7 separate regions of the Homo sapiens genome follow, and all the other regions are linked to region 5. The links are contacts of gene promoters, found by promoter capture Hi-C in blood cells and fetal thymus (Javierre and others, 2016). All regions are on one chromosome and are shown on one strand. Each heading gives the region's core, a stretch centred on a gene start or on the middle of the fragment in contact. The rest is flanking DNA. Distances are from core to core; before and after follow the strand shown.

Region 1 (2,700 bases), core at 10-2,509, 1.1 Mb before region 5:
TTTTTGTATTTTTAGTAGAGACAGGATTTCACCATATTGGCCAGGCTGGTTTCCAACTCCTCACCTTGTGATCTGCCCGCCTTGGCCTCCCAAAGTGCTGGGATTACAGGCATGAGCCACCATGCCTGGCCTAACAGTAATGATTTTTTAAAAATCGGTGATTTTTATTTATTACAAAGTCATAAGTACTGGTAATACTTCTGTGGTTTTGCCTACATTCATAATTAAGGGAAATGATAAATTTCAGTTTGAAGTTAACAAGGATGTAATTTTTATTTATTTTTTTTTTTTTGAGACAGAGTCTCTTTCTGTTGCCCAGGCTGGCGTGCAGTGGCACGATCTCGGCTCACTGCAACCTCTGCCTCCTGGGTTCAAGTGATTCTCCTGCCTCAGCCTCCCGAGTAGTTGGGATTACAGGTGCCTGCCACCATTTCTGGCTATTTTTTAAATATTTTTAGTAGAGATGGAGTTTCACCATGTTGACCAGGCTGGTCTCAAATTCCTGACCTCAGGTAATCCGCCCGCCTTGTCCTGCCAAAGTGCGGGGATTGCAGGCGTGAGCCACCACGCCCGGCCCCAACAGGGATGTAATTTTTCCCATACAAATATAGCGACATCTCTGGGAGGTTGGGAGAGGTGTGAGGGATACAAGACTACATACTGGGTACAGTGTACACTGCTTGGGTGATGGGTGCACTAAAATCTCAGAATTCACCATTGAAGAATTCATCCATGTAACCAAAAACCACCGGTACCCAAAAAACTATTGAATTAAAAACAACAACAACAACAACAACAAATTATAGTGACAGGTCTGAATTCTATCCACGGATTCTTTGGGAATTGGTAGACCCCTGAGTTCTATCCATGGAGTCACAAGATGGCTTAGGGCCCTGAATCACTGCATGGAGAAAATACTTACCAACCTAATTCAACTGTCTTGGACTGTTTGAGAAAAAGCTTCTATTGCATGTAAGTCATTATGTATTCCGGAGTCTATTTGTTACCACAGCCTAGTTTATACTATCTTTGCCAATGTACATTTGCTAATTACTGTATTATTACTACTGTCTTCACTTTGTCCTTCAACATACATTTTTGAGTAAAATGTCAATTTCCCTTTGTGTTAAATTTCATATATGTATCTATTATTATAGAGCATCTCATACCACTAGCAAGTAATAAATTGTATTGAATATGTATCAAAGACATATGGAGACTAAATTATATTTTTCCAGGGACTTTTACTCTTTTTTTCTTCCAATTTTCAGTTTTATGCACCAGATGGTTGTCAGCTGGATCACTATGAATAAATTATAAATGGCCAATAACAATAAATATTTGTATAGTTCCTGCTCCTGAGCAATTTTTAAGCATGTGAATGAATTTGTTTTCAAACAGTAAGCATCTCATCATGGAGTGAATAGATCATCTCACATGCCATTGACAGAAATATCTCCCTGGAATATATAACAAAGAATGAATGTGTTTAGGAAAAGCTACTGGATGGGCTTGTGTGGGTAGAAATTAACCTCATTACAGTACAAAGTTAAGCTTAATAATGTAGATTAAAAAATAATGGCACAAATACTAGAAACACAAAGTCAGGTCTGTGCTTTCACTATACTCTCTAAAATGGAACTTAAGAAATCAGCCAGTGGTGCTTTTAACATAATTAGCCAGACCCTAATATGACAAATAGAACTTTGAAAAATAACTGTCTTGCAAAGGATTAAGCCATTTTTAGATCTATCTATCACAGTTGGTTGGAATTCAGTGTAAAGTTTCCTTTTAAATGGAAGCAAACAATTTTATATATGTTTTTCTCTTGTTGAACCAAGTACTCCCCTTCATTGCTCGACAGAAGATTCATGAAGCTAAAAGAGGACTATAGAGCACTCTAGGAAAAAAAAACCCCAAAATCCCACAAAAACAAATCTAAAAGATTCTCTCTGGAAGCAAATATTCTCCTAGCAGCAGTTTATAATTAGGCTTATCAAGATTGTGATTTAGTAATGGATATTTTATTATGTATATATGTATGTTTGTATTTTTTAGAGGTAGGTTCTCTCTCTGTCACCCAGGTTGGAGTACAGTGGCTCACACAGTTCAAATTCTGGGTGTAAGTAATCCTCCCTCTTCGGCTTCCTAAAGTGATGGGATTACAGGCATGAGACACCATACCCATCCTTATTCTTCTTGTTTATTAAATGAGAGCTTTTACGCTTGATTTGGAAGAACCACACACACACACACACACACACACACACACACACAAACTTGCTGGGCGAGGTGGCTCACGCTTGTAATCCCAGCACTTTGGGAGGCCGAGGTTGGCAAATCACCTGAGGTCAGGAATTTGAGAACAGCCCGGCCAACATGGTGAAACCCCGTCTCTACTAAAAATACAAAAATTTGCCAGGCGTGGTGGTGCATGCCTGTAATTCCAGCTACTTGGGGGGCAGAGGCAGGAGAATTGCTTGAACCTGGGAGGTGGAGGTTGCAGTGAGCTGAGATCGTGCCACTGCACTCCAGCCTGGGCAACAGAGCGAGACTCTGTCTCAAAAAACAAAAACAAGACCTCTCAGTTTTTAGGTCTTCATTATCTTACACAATTCAAATAAAATTCAATGGTCTACATTTTTAAAAGTTTTTTGATATTAATATTATGAAAGTAATTTTTATTGTAGAAATTTTAGA
Region 2 (2,700 bases), core at 85-2,584, 1.1 Mb before region 5:
AAGTAAGTTGAAGAATCATAGTACCATTATTATAAATGGGCATCTTAGTATGAGAAACTAGTTTGAATATGGAGATGAGGTGAGTCAGAGGTGATGTTAGAACATATAAGTAGAAATATCCTTCAGACAATTGGATATATATATGGTTTTAGTATGTAGGAAAGAAAAAGATTCAGTTTTGGGAGTTATCTGCTTTGTTTTGATATTTAAAGCCATGGACTTCGATAATGGCAAATGTCATTAGATGTGATTGAAACATTCTAAATATCAGTAATCGAGAGACTGAAGATAACAGCTGAACATTTGTTTATCACTATTAGGTTATTGGTGACCTTAAGAATTTCTGTAAGTGGAGAATGGGACTGTGTTGGAGTAGTTTGAAGAATATCAGGAAGGGAGGTGGGATCAGCAACCTTCTTTTGAAAAGTTTGCTTGTGAAAAGAAATTGAGAGAGGCCATCAGCCTGAAGGGGCCGCAGGATGGAATTTTTCTTTTTCTTTTAAAGTTAGAAGTAACTTCAGCATATTTGTCATCACTCTGGAAGAAACAGACAGGAAGAAATTTAAGATCCACATGAGAGAGGATTGAGCACCGCCTTTGAGAAGGTAGTTGGGCAAGGGATCTAATTAAATAAGTCTTGGAAAGGAGAGAGACTGTCCTGCCTTAAAGAACAGAATGAAAGTGAGAGAGAGTGAAAAGAGATTTTTTTTTTTTTTAAGATGGAGTCTTGCTCTGTTGCCCAGGCTGGAGTGCAGTGGTGCAATCTTGGCTCACTGCAACCTCTGCTCCGAGGTTCAAGTGATTCTCCTGCCCCAGCCTCCCGCGTAGCTGGGATTACAGGAGCCTGCCACCAATGCCCAACTGATTTTTATATTTTTAGTAGAGATGGGGTTTTACCACGTTGGCCAGGCTGGTCTTGAATTCCTAACCTCAAGTGATCCACCTGCCTTGGCCTTCCGAAGTGCTGGGATTACAGGCGTGAGCCCCTGCGCCTGGCCTGAAAAGAGATTTTGAATGGAGCTAAGTAAGAGAAGTGAAGTTGAGGTATGTCAAGTTGAAGTTCTCGGTTTTCTCAGTAAGAGCAGAGACAAGGTCACTTGCAGGTAATGAAGTGGTGGGATTTGAGAAGGGATTTCAGAGATTGGAGACTGCTCTGGGCAATGTGGTATAGAATGTAACATGTTATGAAGGGATTTCAGAATACCTGTGAGAACCCAGCTGAAGTCATCATGGAATTGTAGTTTTTCTAAATATTGTCGTTTTGTGATTTTTTTTTCCTAGCTAAGAGTAATTACAGTAGTGTATTCATTAGCAGTGTGGGAGCACATAATATCAAAAGAATGAACCATTTTTGAGTGGCATTGAACATATTACTGAAATAATTAACCAGAAAATCCATGCTTGGTAGGAAAATTAGTAAAGTCAAAATGTGGGTACTAGACCAGGAATAGAGGGAAGATGAAATAATAAGAATGGTGAAGATGGCCAGATGTGGTGGGTCGCCCCTGTAATCCCAACACTGTGGGAGGCTGAGGCAGGCATATCACTTGAGCTCAGGTTTTCAAGACCAGCTTGGGCAACATGATGAAACCTCGTCTCTATAAAAAATATAAAAATTAACCAGGCATGGTTGTGTGCACCTGTGGTCCCAGCTACTCCAGAGGCTGAGGTAGGAGGATTGCTTGAGCCTGGGAGGTGGAGGTTGCAGTGAACCCTGATCATGCCCTGCACTCCAGCCTGGGTGACAGAGTGAGACCCCATCTCAAAAAAAAAACCTCAAAAAGCAAACAACAACAACAACGAAAATGGTGAAGATGGCCAGGGGCAATGAAGGAATGAGAGGAAGGACAAGAGTTTATTAGGATGGAAACTGCCGAGCAAGATAGGAAGGTATCATTTAAATTAACTAAGAACTAACCCAACTCTTGGGTGACTGTATATGTCATAGGTAGCCGTCATGGTAGCAAAGCCTCTATGCCTGTTGTTCTTAGCAGGGGTACGCAGATGAATGGTCTGTAGAACACTTTAAATATAAATGCTCAATCCTCCAAATATTCTACTAGTAATAGGTCTGGGATCTATATCCTCTAGGCTGTGCAATCCAGTATGATAGCCACTGGCCACATGTCACTTTTAAGTACTCAAAATATCTGAATTGAGATCTTCTATAGGTGTAACCTATATAAGGGATTTTGAAGACTGAGTGTGAAAAAAATGTAAAATAATCTTAGCAATTTAAAAATATTATCGGTTGAGCATCACTCAAAACCTGAAATCTGAAATGCTCCAAAATCCCAAATGTCTTGAGTGCCAGCATGACACCACAATGGGAAAATTTTACACCTGACCTCACATGATGGGTCACAATCAAAACGCAGGTGCACAACCCACAGTTTATTTAGCCTGCTGTTGTTAGTTGTTGCTGTTGTTTAACAGCTGAGACCGGCGGTTTATTGGTTGTTTTAATGAGGATGCTAATAGGTGGCTACCTATATCAGTTGGGATCTTAGGAAAAATGTCCAATTTATTATATCACATCTTTTGGCTGGTGGGGGAGAGTGGTTCCTGTGGCAATGGTTTACACTAATTTGGGAAGCCCACACTAAAGGATGAAGTATTATTTGAGCTATAGTAGCACATTATTACTTCTAATGCCTTTTCAAGAGCTGACTGCCAGCAGATATATTTCACTTTATGTAA
Region 3 (2,700 bases), core at 1-2,500, 1.1 Mb before region 5:
CCAGTGGATAGTTGGTAATTCAGATTTAGAGAAACAAAAAAATCTAAGTGCTCTAATTTTATAGGTCACCATTAAAGCTGTGTTAAGATCACAGAAGAGACGAGATAAAGACCAACATTTCAAAGGTGGGGTGAAAAGTGAGAGAGAGTAAAAATGCCAGAGAAGTAGACCAGGTATGATAGATAGGTCAGAAGGTTAAGAGGGAATGAGGGGTGAACAAATAGATAGTAATTGTTTAACACTTTTAACAATTTACAAATATTAAATTTAGGCCGTTTTTCTATGGCATTCTCTTGAGTCTGCTAACCCTTAACAAGTACATACTCATTTTGGGTTGGCGTTTACTTAGGCAGTAGTTTCATTAAGAACTGTCTTATTTTAAGAATTTAGCCACTTATAAGTAGCAGTAATATTTTTACATGTTGCTTTTCTGGGTTATATTTAAAAATCTTGGTCTCTATAAAACATAAACATTGATTTGCCACAGACTGATGATGCTCACTAGAATATCAAGCAAAATTACACACTTTTTCCTTATAAATTAGTTCCCAAAGTTAATTATTTTGGTTTTTACTTATGAGCCATTGAAATGGCAACTTTGGTTTTCACATGAATAGTTAAATTTAAAAGATTTTGTATCTTATATGTAAAGGAATGTTGAGGGAAAAGAAGGAAAAATATGATTCAGAAGAAAAGTCTAGAACTAGACATTCATTCCCTTAGGTTCTTTCAGAACAATTAACCAGTTTAAAAGAGTTTGCACATTTGGATGAAACATTAATACTTAGTAACTAACAGGCCAGGCACGGTGGCTCACACCTGTAATCCCAGCACTTTGGGAGGCTGAGACAGGTGGATCATGAGGTCAGGAGTTCAAGAACAGCCTGGCCAACATGTTGAAACCCTGTCTCTACAAAAAAAACGAAAATTAGCTGAGCGTGGTGGTGCGTGCCTGTAGTCCCAACTACTCGGGAGGCTGAGGCAGGAGAATCGCTTGAACCCAAGTGGTGGAGGTTGCAGTGAGCCAAGGTTGCGCCATTATACTCCAGCCTGTGTGACAGAGTGAGAATCTGTCTCAAACAAACAAAAAAGCTTAGTAATAATAGATAACATTTGTTAAGCATCATGTACTATGCTAGGTGCTGTTCTGAGTGTTCTGTATGTATGAATACTTAAAAAAGGCTTTTGAGTTGGGGCCATTATTCTATTTTTGTGGATGGAAAAAACTGAGGTACAAAGGTGGAGTAGCTTAAGCAGAGTTATGTGGCTAGTGCAATGGGGTCAGGATTTATGCATTGGGCTCCAGAGTCAGGGTTCTGAAAGTCTTGTTTGTACTATTTGTTGTCCAATACTGAGTTATAGTAATCTTTGTTGCATTCTTTTTGAATTTTCCTATCTCTAAGCTTTGTTTTATGCAAAGGTGTGGTAATGTTTTCAATAATAAAAATTCCAGGAAAGATACTAGTTTTAGTTAGAACCTGAAATTCTATGGAGGGGTGAGTGTGAAGAGTTGGAGCAAGTGGGAAAGTACTGAAGTAGGCAGATTCTCAGTGTTGAGTTGCTGTCTTCAAAGGAAGAGAAAATCGTTGGTGGGGAAGGGGGTTCAGGATTGGAGTTTTGGTTATTATTCCTTTGAAACGTGATCCTTGTATGGAGAAGAGAAGATGATTCAGAAGGTCTTGGTTTCTAATACAGACTCCTTTGTTAACATGTTCTTAGCTGTGTATAAATATCTAACTTCTGGCCCTTTTAAATCTGAGATAATTAAAAATTAAACATTTTAATAATGAGACTGAAATCTTCGATATAAAACTTGAGTATTAAGAATATGTTTAGCATCAAAAATCTCAATTAAGTAGCTGCCAGGATGCCCTACGAAAGGCACAGTTTAATTGTTTAGGTGCTGTTGTGTTTACCAAGTTTCAGATGATTGTATATTAAAAGCAATGGCTAGTTTAACCCTAGTGTCTAGCTTTGCTCTTGGCTTTTCTATTTCTGCTAACTCTTAGCTACCTGGTGTGGTAATCATATACTGCCACCAAGATATCTGGGAAATGTGTTTTATGGGTGATGGTCACAAGGGGTAGAAGAAAGGGCTAGCTCTGTGACCTTGGGCAAGTTACTTAATTTCTCAGTGCCTCAGTTTGTTTATTTCTAAAGTGAGGGCAGTAATACTATCTTAGAGGGTTGTTGTGAGGATTAGTTGAATAAATACATGTGAAGTGTTCAGAACAGGGCCAGATCCATATTACACACTATAGAAACATCATTTTTGCCACCATTTATTGAGTGCTTGCTTGTCAGACACTGGGCCGGGCACTTCCTGCTGATCTGTGTTCCCTCAAGGCACACATTATTAAAATGAAGTGAATTCTAGAGAGGTTGCCCAAAGTCACACAGTTTCTGATAAGATTTAAACCCATGCTTCTACTCCAAAACCTCTTCCCAGAATCCATGGTGTATTGTGTAAAAATCATAAAAAAACACAGCCTCTGGAGTTGGGTATGTTAATGTGATAAGGGAGCATGAAATTATGTAGTGGAGTGGGCATTATTTTTAGTGGCAGACTATTTTAAAGTAGTTTATTTTGGGTTTGTAATAAACTCTGCCGTATTTAAATTTACACTTTTGATAGTTCCAAAATTCATTCATTATAGAGTCATGTACACCTCTACCTAGTAATCTTTCAGTGGTTTGGTA
Region 4 (2,700 bases), core at 157-2,656, 1.0 Mb after region 5:
GGTAAAGGTGGGGTTGCACCATGTTGCCCAGGCTGGTCTTGAACTCCTGGCCTCAAACAATCCTCCTGCCTCAGCCTCCCAAAGTGCTGGGATTACAAGCATGAGCCACCATGCCCGGCCTAGAAAATTTATATCTATAGCATAAAAATACTTTAATGTGATTTTTCACTACCAGTCTTTAATCATATAGATAACATGCAAACATATTTTTCTTATAGAAAATTAGGATCACAAGTAAAGCTAAATTCCCTTTGATCATATCTCTAATCTAGTTTCTTTTCCCTCAAAGTAACAAATGGTTATCAATTTTTTGTTAATGTTGGTTGCAGTGGCTCATGCTTGTAATCCCAGCATTTAGGGAGGCAGAGGCAGGAGGACTGCTTGAGTCCAGGAGTTTAAGAGCTGCCTGGACAATATAAGGAGACCTGATTCTCCACAAAAAGGAAAAACAAAAACAAAAAAAGTGTAATTTTTTGTTTATGCTTTCAGATATTTTTCTAAGCACTGCATCTATTTATGTAGAGTCAAAAAATACATAGTATTATTTCATGTAAATTTTCCACATAAATATTATTATAGCATGTATACCAATTTGCTTTTTACTTCACAATGTGACATGAAGCTTACTTTTTACAATTTCAGTATAGACAATCACATAGGTGTCTTAGTTTGTTTTGCACTGCTATAACAGAATACCACAGACGGGGTAATTTACAAAGAAAATTGATATATATCTTATAGTTCTAGCAGCTGGAAAGTCCAAGAGTATGCTAACGGCTTTCTGGTTATATTATAACATGATGGGAGGCATTGCACAGTAAGACAGAACATGTGTGTCAGCTCAGCTCCCTCTTCTTCTTTTCTTTTTTTTTTTTTTTTTTTTTTTTGAGACGGAGTCTCGCTCTGTCGCCCAGGCTGGAGTACAATGGTGCAATCTCAGCTCACTGCAACCTCCACCTCCCGATTCTCCTGCCTCAGTCAAGCGATTCTCCTGCCTCAGTCTCCCAAGTAGCTGGGATTACGGGTGCATGCCACCACACCTGACTAATTTTTGTATTTTAGTAGAGACGGGGTTTCGCCACATTGGCCAGACTGGTCTCAAATTCCTGACCTCAGGTGATCCACCAGCCTCAGCCTCCCAGAGTGCTGGGATTATAGGCATGAGCCACCACGCCTGGCCCCTCTTCCTCTTTTCATAAAGCCATCAGTCCCATCATGGGACCCCCACTCTGATGACCTTAACTAATCTAATCCTGATTACCTCCTAAAGGCCCTACCTCTAACCAACATATGAATATTGGAATCAAGTTTTCAATACTTGAAATTTGAGGGACCCATTCAACCATAGGGACCCATTCAAACCATAGCAGTAAGAAATATGTCACTGTGTTTTAGCTAAACACTGATTTATAGACATTTAAGCTGTTACATTTTTCTCTATTATAAACATTGCTGCAAAGGACATCGTTGTACACGGGTGTTCCTCTGTTTCTCTGAGGTGAAGGTTAGAGAGGGAACTGCTAAGTCGTAAGGTATGAATATTCAAAATGTTAATAGTAATAATAATGGTAGTTAATAGTTACTGAGGAAATACTACCTACTTGTGATTCTAAGTGCTTTACATTCACAAACTCTATCAGGAGAGTATTTTATCTTAGACCATTTTACAGATGAGAATACTGAGACACAGTGAGGGTGAGTACCTCACTCCGGGTCACATAACTAGCAACTGGCAGAGCCAGTATTTAGGCCCCAAGCAATTCTAAGACTCGGCTCTTTCTTATCCACAACACTACTGCCTATAGTCCTCATTCTCTTCTAACTGATTCATATTTGCTACTTACAAGGGGAAATCTACTTACTTGGGGGCTAATCAATCTTACAAAATTGTATGTGCGTTTTTAAAATTTTTAGTTTGAAAAGTTGTTTTCATACTAATGATTGATCATAGCCTGGCCTTAGCAGAACAATTCATATAGCTTGGCAAAAGAAGACAAATTGTTCTATTGTCACCCATGTGAAATAGAATGAGGTAAAAATATGAAAACTTCAAAAACTTTTCAGAGAAGGGAACCCAAGGCCAGTTGGGCTCTGAGCAAGTCTTTTCTCACTAGAGAGCTTGATCCCCAGTCTTTAAAACCAGGTACTTAATCTATAATATCTGCTCAAACCCATTTTTAATCAAGCTTTTCTGCTTATCCTCTGGGCAGTCCTTGGAAAACTGAAAGAGAGAAGAATCTTCTTTGTATGGCTGTTGTGTGCACCATTCTGATTTATTTTATTTAACATTTTTGAAACAATCTCAAACTTAAAGGAAAGTTGCAAGTCAGTACCAAAAATTTTTTTTCGGAATTACTTGAGAGCGAGTGACTGGCATGTTGGCCCATCTCCACCAAATACTTTAGTGTACATTTCCTACAAACAAACCAATTCTCCTTCATAACCATGATAGAACATCAAAATCAGAAAATTAATGCCAATACATTACTATCATCTAATCTTAAGACCTCAAGCAAGTTTTGCCATTTGTCCCTATGTCTTTTTTTTTTTTTTTGAGACGGTGTCTCACTCTGTCACCAGGCTTGAGTGCAGTGGCGCAATCTCGGCTCACTGCAACCTCTGCCTCCCGGGTTCAAGTGATTCTCCTGCTTCAGCCTCCTGAGTAGCTGGGACTACAAGCACGCACCACCACGCCCAGCT
Region 5 (2,700 bases), core at 115-2,614:
TCGCCTTAGAACTCCTTCGCGAGGGTCTGTCCGGTCACCGCGCCTCGGCCGGGGCGACCTAAGGCGGCTGAAGGAGGGTGCGAGAAGGCGCGGCGACCTCAGCCGCATCCACGTGTGCGCGCCGCGCAGGGACCTTTCGCCTGGGGGCAGAGCCCGCGGGGATCGCGTCCCGGTTGCGCGGCAGCGGCCTTGGGTGCTGCCGGCCTCTGTCCCCTTGAGCCGAGTGGCGACTGCGACGGCTGCCGAGCTAGCCCTGGCACCCGCCGCTCGCAGGGAGCCCCGGCGTGTGCTGCTGGGAAAGTCCAGAGGCCGGTGGAGACTGGGGAACGAGCAACTGACAGTTCGGACGAGGATTTCCCTCCTCCTCCTCCTCTCCCTCTTCCCATCTGTCCGGCCAAAAATGTGAAGGGACTGCACCCATCTTCCCGGCGAGCCTCCCTAAGTGCAGTGACATGTGCGACGGCGGCGCGTGTGGGTGCGCGTGCAATGTTTGCAGTGGAAGTAAAAGCCTTTCAGAGAAAAATGATTCGAACCTCCAAAACCAGGTCTTAAGACAATTTGCAAAAGTAGAGACCCCTTTATCCCCCTAAAATCTGCTTTTCAGCCGCCTGTCAGCTGACACTGGTCCTCGCCTCCATAAAGAATGAATGAAATTTAAATGAACTACCTGCAGCTACTAAACAATCCAGCATTTTCCCTGTATCTGCCATATGCTCTGCACTTCCAAGTCCAAACATATCTCAATGCATCCAGCAATTACGCTGCGGATCCCTCGCCGACACCCGCGGCATCAAGCCAGGCACCTGGTGGGCTCCCCGGGGCTGGTGGGCACCGCTCTGCCCTCGGCTGGAACGTGCTTTCTTTTTCCCCCTAAAGAAAAATGTATCCCCATGCAACTTGCAAAATGAGCCGCAGGGCGTGCTTCCCAACGTCCGGATACATTTCCCGCAAAGACTCTTCCATTCATCAGTCTCTGGAGCGGCTTCTGCTGCCGAGGCAGGGGCTCCAGGTCCTCGGAGGGTCTGACAGCCCCTCAGATGATCCCGGAACGAATTCCCACCTGCTCCCGGGAGCCTGGCGCCCCGCGCGCCCCCGCGCGCCCCCGCCCTCGGCCGCCCGCCCGGCTCCCCGTTACCTGTGCCGGGGTCTTCGGGCCATGGCGCGGCGGGCGCGGGGCTCCGCCGAGAGCCGCGGGGACCGCACCGGGCTGCCGCCTCCCGCTGCCCGCCGCCTGCCTGCGTCCCTCCCCGGCTGCGCAGCGGCGCTCCGCACCGCTGGGGCGAAGTTTCTCAGGAGAAAGAGGAGGAGGAGGTCACGGAGGAGGAGGAGAAGGAGGAGGAGGAAACAGGTTGATATTAAAGTGTAAACTCTGTAAACAGAGATGCCATCAAACAAAGAGCTTTGGACACTCCCCCTCCCGCCAAATCTGGCGCCCCTGCAGTGCGCACGCGCCCTGCCCGCCGCCTCCGCGGTCGCCCTGGCTGCCGCCCGCGGGGCTGCCGGGCTGGCCGGGTCGCCGCTCCCATTCGGCGCTCGCGCCGCCGCGGTGCGCCTAGCGCGCCGCGAGGCCCGGGAGGCGCGCGGGCAGGGAGCCCGGGGCCAGGGAGGGGTGGCCGGGGGCCGCGACGGCGCCTTTTCCTGAGCAAACCCCGCTCCCGGGTCGCGGCGGCGCCGACCCGCGCCCAGTCCCGCCGCCTCCCCTCCTCCCTGGCTGCCGCACCGCGGTCGCCCGGCTCCGCGTGCTCCCGGGCAGCGGGACCAGAGCTCCTCCAGCTCCCACTCACTGTCGCGGGGGCGGCAAGCGGTGGGGGGAAATTCCCGCACAGAAGATTGGATTTTCGTCAAGGTTTACAACTGTGCCCTCTGGAGACGGGGAAATTAGGAGTTGGAGGAGTAGGGGATGTGAGCATATGTATTCATAGGCTGTTTGGCTAGGGTTTTTTTTCCTTCTTCTTAAATAAATAACATCTCTAATTTAACTTGTTAGTGACAAAGGACGCTTCAATACAAGTGGGCGGCAACCATCACCGCTCACTAATGGAGCGCCCCAGCGGAGCTTTCACTCCCCTCCCGGATCCTGCAGCCGCCACCGTCGTATTGTCACATGTCCTTCACTCTCACCCCAGCACACACCCGGGCCCCACCCACCCCGCCCCGCCCGGCCCAGGCGGTGCCCACCGCACACCTTTGCTCCCCTCCCTGCACAGAGCGCGCACCCTGGATTGCACACCTGCAAAAAAAAAAAAAAAAAAAAAAAAAAAAAAAAAATACACGGGGGTCCAGACAGCCCGCCCCTAGCAGAACTCAGGAAACCCCACGTTTGCATGCATGGTTTTAGAAGTAAAACAGTTTGTGATTTTGGAGGTCGGTATCCCTGCTTAGTGTCATTTGAGGGCTCTATTTTACGAGATAAAAGTCAGCAAAGGCTTTCGTGTTGTTTAATGAGGGTCTCCAGAAGTAAAGGAAGAAGATAAGTGCTGAATTTATAAGGATTGATGACTGGGGGGATTTTAGGGGAGTTTTAGTTTTACTTCCGTTTATAGATTAGAACCATTGGGGATTTTTTTTTCATTCTCTGTACACACTAATGTATTTTTCCTTTAATCTTTTAGGAGTTTGAGACTTCTGCTGACTGGGTTTGTGGGTGTCCCATGTGCCCCAGCAGTTCAAACTTAGCTCAGAAAGCATTTTTTCTTACTA
Region 6 (2,722 bases), core at 22-2,521, 1.1 Mb before region 5:
CAAGTAGTTAAAAAGATGCTGTCAGTTTCATGATACGCTACTGCATTGTGGTTTACAAAAAAGTTGAATTTTAAGCTTTTACGGTTAAAAGTTTCCTATTTCCTGAATTAGTTTTTCCTTCCCTGAAATTGTAAGTGCGTTTATTAGAGTTTATGGCAGTGCCCATTATATGCATTGTAAATAATGGTTATTTAATTTAACATAAATCACAATAATGGTTTTTTTGTCTTTGCTAGGAATTCGAATTTAGAGTTTAATTTCTCAGAGCATTCTCTCCAGGAAGAATTTTTACAGTATCTCAAAGACTTCACTTGACTTCTTGATCCTGCATAAAACCAAGGTAAAAGAGCATTCATTTTTCTAGTTTTCACTTTTGACTTTTTTGAGGAAATGTCACTACTGAATTGATGATTCAGATGGAGTGATTAAAAATGATGTGGTCCGAAGCTTTGTTTTTTGTTTATTTTGGTGGCTTGTATGAAGTAAGTCAGATGTTAAGTTAGTTTTAGGAAAAAGGTTCTTTTTCTGTCTTCTTCCAGGTTGTGCTCCTGCTTTTTCTATTTCTATAAACACATCTACTAAAAGACTCAGGACATACAAGATAGAAAGACTGCTACTTAACCCATTTCCCTAATGTAAACAAGAGGAGATTCATAACTTGTTTCTCTCTACTGTAGTGTTTAGGTAATTCAAATTGATTGCTAATGTGTTAGATGTATTAAGTGAATTAAGTTCATCAACTCATTAAGTCCACTACAAGTCTGTGAAGTAGGTACTGTTATTTTCTTCGTTTTACAGTTGAGGAACAGGCTCAGAGAGCTTAAGGAATTTGAATTCATGTAGTTTAAATGCAGAGACCATGTTCTTAGCTTTTTCCCTGTTTTTGCAGTAGAGCAGAAGATATCAATCCATTTCTTTTGGACTGCTAACTATTTGATAGGCATGCTTTCTTTCCGTTAGTTTTTGAAGTTTCAGGTGTAGCTTAAAGCAAAACGCAAACCTTTAAAAATGAACTTGCTGCTTTAAAAAATGTCCAGGTTCTGGGGAATGCATTCATTTTATAGTTATTTATTAAATACCTGTTGTGCTCGTGTGCCACAAGCCCAGCTACATCCTGGTGACTGAAAAAGCCTACAGAATTCCTGAATCCTTTAACAGAAATTACCATCCAAAAAGCCTCAAGAGCAAAGAACAGAGATTCTGGAGATACAGCACAACACAGCATCTGTAGCTCTTAGTAAAATAGTGTTTTATTTACTGATTAGTACAATGAAAAAGGATGTTGTCTTATTGCTGGACTGGATCTCCAAAATCATTTGCAGCTCTGGTTTCTTTTTATAGTGTGTCTGATTATCTCAGAGTGGGATAAAAATAAATATCTTGAAGTAAATTCGATCAGAATGAATGTAAATTACGTATTTATATTCTTTTAAAAACTTTGGGAGGGACAGAATTTTGAAATCAGATGCAAGAGAATGTCACAGTTCCCCGTGGCCAAGATTCCTTCCTTTACAGGCTGTAAATGTGGTTTTTGCCAATTTCATTATGTTGTCAAAACTACAGTTGCTAAACCAAATTTGTGTTCTACAAGGTGTCAGATCTCCTTATGTTAATGCTAAATTTATTTCTTATGTGTTGTGGAATTCTTACTTTGCCTTTTTGAACCCTGAACCTATGTTTTGTTTCTGTCTTTATGTATTTCTTGCTTACTTGGGATTGAGAAGAAGAGTGAGAGAAGACAAAGGTGGTAGTCTATTAGAGGATAGTTATGTTTTATTTTGAAATAAGCATTTATCTCAAACATCTTGAATTTGTTATTTATATTGCTTGATGAGGAACTATCCAAGTATTACCATTACTTCTTCTATAACTGAACTCATCTTAGTACCTCCAAATACTATTTTATTATACCGAACAAAGTCTAGGTAGGTAAAAAAGTGCCTTCAAAAATACTTGGTTGTAGGAGATACTATTTAAGTATTATGGGAATTGCAAGGTGTTAGAAGTTTAGTAAGTTGATTTTTATTGAAATGAATACTTTTTGAGTAAGTTAGTGTAAATTTGGAAATAGTTCTATGCAGCAAAAACAAGCTTGAGAGGCTAAGATATAATCTAATCATTGAAAAGTTGAAAATGTGACATTTGGGATATGCATGCAGTGATTTGCTATATGTGTATGTTTTTTCAATTAGTAGATCTTATAAATCAATTAGTTTTGACAGTTACTGATTTCTGTACCCAATGAGGTCTAATTATAGCATTGGATACCATGTAGTGTTTAGAAAAGTTAAACTACTGGTGCCCAAGTTTTTTTTTTCTTGTAGTTCTAATAAATCTTTCTTGAAGTAATCCCTCCAATTCTTTATCTTTTATTCTTTTTAAATCTTCTTAACAGAAAGCTTCAGGGTGAACTAGGCATTGTCACATAAGTCCACTTTATTCTGGAGTCATGAGTACTGAGAGCAGAGCCATGGCTCCAGCTGTTTAGAAACTTAGTGTCCTGTATTGTTCTAGGATACTATCTAGTACCACTCCAGACAGGATTGTGTATATGGAGTGGTCAGTTCAGTCTCATTTTCAAGGCCATAAAGCACTATGATAACAGCCTGGTAGGTTTATTTTTTGTTAGTATTGTGACACTTTATTTTATTTCAGTTGCCTTATCTGTAGTACCTTTATTATTTATCTTTCTTACAGGAGGGGTAGGCATTTGTATTGGGCG
Region 7 (2,749 bases), core at 217-2,716, 1.0 Mb after region 5:
ATTGCATATTCCCCCTCATTCTCATTCTCAATAACAGTTATGAATTCCTCCTCGAACAAAAAGTGCTTAAATCTCATTTTCATCTGAACACAGTTCAGGTGGGCTTAGGAATCTGCAATCTAATTATAGATAACTCAGATGGGCCAGTCACGAGTTACAAAGCTTTTTTTTATGTTTTGAAGGTAGAATTCTGGTTTACTGGATTATAGTCCATCACTTCACATAGAAGATCTGAATTGTGTTTCTCCAGAATTGAAAGGTGCCAGAGGAGACCCAAACATTGTCACCCAGATGGGAGATAAGATCAAGCACAAGTGGGTGGGAAGAGAACAAGGCAAGAACAGGGAAGTCAAGAAAGAACAAGAGATCAATAAACAAATGACAAATATTTACTAAGCACTGTACTGTCAAATAATGTGTGTGCAGAGGTATCTTTTACCTAAGGGAGTGGGGCATATCCCTGCCAGCACATTCCCTGAGCCCCAGCCAGCCTGCCTTTGAGCACGACAATTGATTGGAAAAGGGATAATTGTCTTCTCCATAGCTCTCCAGCTGTAGGTCTACTCAAATATGGGTTTGGGGGAACCAATTCAGCTAAGATTCTCATAAGCTAAAATGTGTCTAAAACCACTGCTACCAAAAAGAATAAGTCAGTCACTGCCCTTACAGAATTTGCCATCCACCTGGGGAGACAGGCACCTACCCTTAACATGTGACAGGCAGTGAACAAGGGGTAAAGGGAACTTCAGACGTCCAGCGGCTCTCTGCGGGGTCGGGTGCCTAGAGCAGGCTTCATAGACGGGAAGCTCTAAGATTCTTCCTAACCAATTCTAGGAACTCTAATAGGATACAGGCCCTGAGGACCGGATTATAATCGTAATAGCTAATTCTACTGAGCTCTTATTATGTGTCAGACAATGTTCTAAGTTTGTTTTTTTTGTTTGTTTGTTTTTGAGACACGATCTCTATTGTCTGGGCTGGAGAAAAGTGGTACAATCATGGCTCACTGCAGCCTCAACCTCCTGGACTCAGGTGATCCTCCCACCTCAGCCAACCAAGTAAACAACGTTTTGTTTCTTAATAAGTCTTTTTCGGAGACGTGGTTTCACCATGATGCCCAGGCTGGTCCTGAGCTCCCTAAGTGCTAGGATTACAGGCATGAGCCACCATACCTGGCTGTTCTAAGTATTCTGTAGTCAAGCTGTTTACTCTTCATAACAATGCTGTGATGTCAAAAGTGAAGAAACTCGTACAGAACGGTCATTAGCTGGTCAGTAAGTGGTGAGATCGAAAGTCAAATCATGTCAATCTGGCCCAAAAGCCTATGCTTGTAGCCATTACTTTATCCGGCCTCAGAGGTGACAGAAGAGTATAAAAGCAAACAGCTGTGTACTTGTTAGTCATCCATTTATTAATTCACCAGACTTTTACAAAGATACCTTCTAGATGTCATGCTAGGCAAAAAGAGGGGGATGGAGAGGGAGAGGGAGAGAGAGGGAAAATTTGTAATTACAGACACTATCAGTGACTGATGAAGATAAGAAGCAGCTGCAAAAATATACATTGCAGTGGGAGTATAACTTGGTGCACCATTTTGGAAAACTGCTTGGCAGTATCTACTAAAGATGAAGATATCTATAACTTGTGGCCCAATCGTTCTCTTCCACAGTATAGACCCCAAAGACTGCACACATATGCAATACAAAATTTGCAATAGTGTTCCCAGTAATACTATTTATGACAGCCCCAAAATGGGAACCATTCAAAATGTCCACCTATAGGAAAATGAATAAAGAATTTAGTGTGGTTTCATATACTGAAATACTACCCAATGAAAATGAGTGAATAATTGCTATATACAACAAGGAATAGATCTCATAAACAAAACCCAGACTGTATGATTTGATTTATATAAAATGTAAAAGCAGGCAAACAGCATGAATTGATTTGGAAGTTAAGATGTGATCACCTTTGGGGAGGAAGGCAGAGCTCATAGTTGAGAGGGTGCATAAGGAAGACATCCTACCAGGTGCTGTTAATTTCTTGATCTGATCTTGAGCTTGATCTTGATTTCATCAAGCTATACACTTATGATACATGCATTTTTCTCTGTATGTGTTATATAACAAAAATGTGCATTATAAATATGTGGTATGATGAAAACAGGTGTTTGCGTACATAGGAGTGACACCTTACTCAACTTGGGGGGCAGGAAATGGGAGTACATTTTTAGGTAGTTTAGGAAAAAGGTGCTTAGGGAGATCTGGAGAATCCAGGTAGGCTGTCTTGGAGAACTGGATCTTGAAAATGAGGCAGAAAGGCCATTCCACATTCAGGCTTGTAGTGGGGGCCGGACTTGCATAAGGATAATGAATGGGACAGTGGCAATAGAAAGGGACCAGACAGACCTAGGGCAGAATCTCAGCTCTATTGACCAGCTTTCTTTCTTTTCTTTGAGACGGGATTTTTCAGTAGAGGCAGGGTTTCGCCATATTGGCCAGGCTGGTCTCAAACTCCTGACCTCAGGTGATCCACCCGCCTCAGCCTCCCAAAGTGCTGAGATTACAGGCATGAACTACCGTGCCCGGCTGAAAAAATTTTAAGTAGGGAGATGGACCATGTCTTTCATGTTCTTAATAATCCCACGGGGGAGACGTTTAGCTTTCATCAGATAGCAAAGGAAGCATTTGAAGGTTTTCCATGAGGAAAGTGAAGTGATTCAGAGTGTTTTACTGGCTATCACTAAGAG

What was found. Contacts are between HindIII fragments. The CHiCAGO score rates a contact against its expected background, and 5 or more counts as called.
Region 1: a contact is called between a fragment that was not itself captured here and the fragment with the promoter of MYB in region 5, in 1 of 17 cell types (fetal thymus). The highest score is 6.1, in fetal thymus.
Region 2: a fragment that was not itself captured here is called in contact with the fragment with the promoter of MYB in region 5 in 1 of 17 cell types (fetal thymus); the score reaches 5.6 in fetal thymus.
Region 3: a contact is called between a fragment that was not itself captured here and the fragment with the promoter of MYB in region 5, in 1 of 17 cell types (fetal thymus). The highest score is 7.3, in fetal thymus.
Region 4: a fragment that was not itself captured here is called in contact with the fragment with the promoter of MYB in region 5 in 1 of 17 cell types (total CD8 T cells); the score reaches 5.5 in total CD8 T cells.
Region 6: a fragment that was not itself captured here is called in contact with the fragment with the promoter of MYB in region 5 in 2 of 17 cell types (fetal thymus and monocytes); the score reaches 15.5 in fetal thymus.
Region 7: a contact is called between a fragment that was not itself captured here and the fragment with the promoter of MYB in region 5, in 1 of 17 cell types (fetal thymus). The highest score is 5.5, in fetal thymus.

The regions. Positions count from the first base shown.
Region 1 is chr6:136,298,000-136,300,699 of GRCh38, reverse strand. All of the region lies in intron 2 of LOC124901408 (a long non-coding RNA gene), which reads right to left. Among named protein-coding and RNA genes, the nearest start is that of BCLAF1, 9.5 kb to the right of the region's middle. The HindIII fragment of the contact is 594 bases long and covers 963-1,556 here.
Region 2 is chr6:136,245,366-136,248,065 of GRCh38, reverse strand. All of the region lies in intron 2 of MTFR2 (mitochondrial fission regulator 2), which reads left to right. Among named protein-coding and RNA genes, the nearest start is that of MTFR2, 3.6 kb to the left of the region's middle. The HindIII fragment of the contact is 5,491 bases long and covers 1-2,700 here.
Region 3 is chr6:136,262,602-136,265,301 of GRCh38, reverse strand. The region is part of intron 11 of BCLAF1 (BCL2 associated transcription factor 1); the gene reads left to right. Among named protein-coding and RNA genes, the nearest start is that of MTFR2, 14 kb to the right of the region's middle. The HindIII fragment of the contact is 311 bases long and covers 1,095-1,405 here.
Region 4 is chr6:134,142,320-134,145,019 of GRCh38, reverse strand. No RefSeq gene overlaps it. Among named protein-coding and RNA genes, the nearest start is that of SLC2A12, 91 kb to the right of the region's middle. The HindIII fragment of the contact is 1,564 bases long and covers 625-2,188 here.
Region 5 is chr6:135,179,972-135,182,671 of GRCh38, reverse strand. It overlaps MYB (MYB proto-oncogene, transcription factor), which reads right to left and starts at 1,364. Exons shown (of 16, transcript NM_001130173.2): 1 at 1,136-1,364. The coding sequence starts at 1,158. RefSeq lists silencers at 117-196, 1,246-1,295, 1,356-1,575, 1,646-1,695, 2,136-2,245. The HindIII fragment of the contact is 5,797 bases long and covers 1-2,700 here.
Region 6 is chr6:136,280,202-136,282,923 of GRCh38, reverse strand. BCLAF1 (BCL2 associated transcription factor 1) reads left to right here. Exons shown (of 13, transcript NM_014739.3): 2 at 237-340. Among named protein-coding and RNA genes, the nearest start is that of BCLAF1, 8.3 kb to the left of the region's middle. The HindIII fragment of the contact is 1,644 bases long and covers 450-2,093 here.
Region 7 is chr6:134,164,576-134,167,324 of GRCh38, reverse strand. No RefSeq gene overlaps it. Among named protein-coding and RNA genes, the nearest start is that of SLC2A12, 110 kb to the right of the region's middle. The HindIII fragment of the contact is 2,604 bases long and covers 165-2,749 here.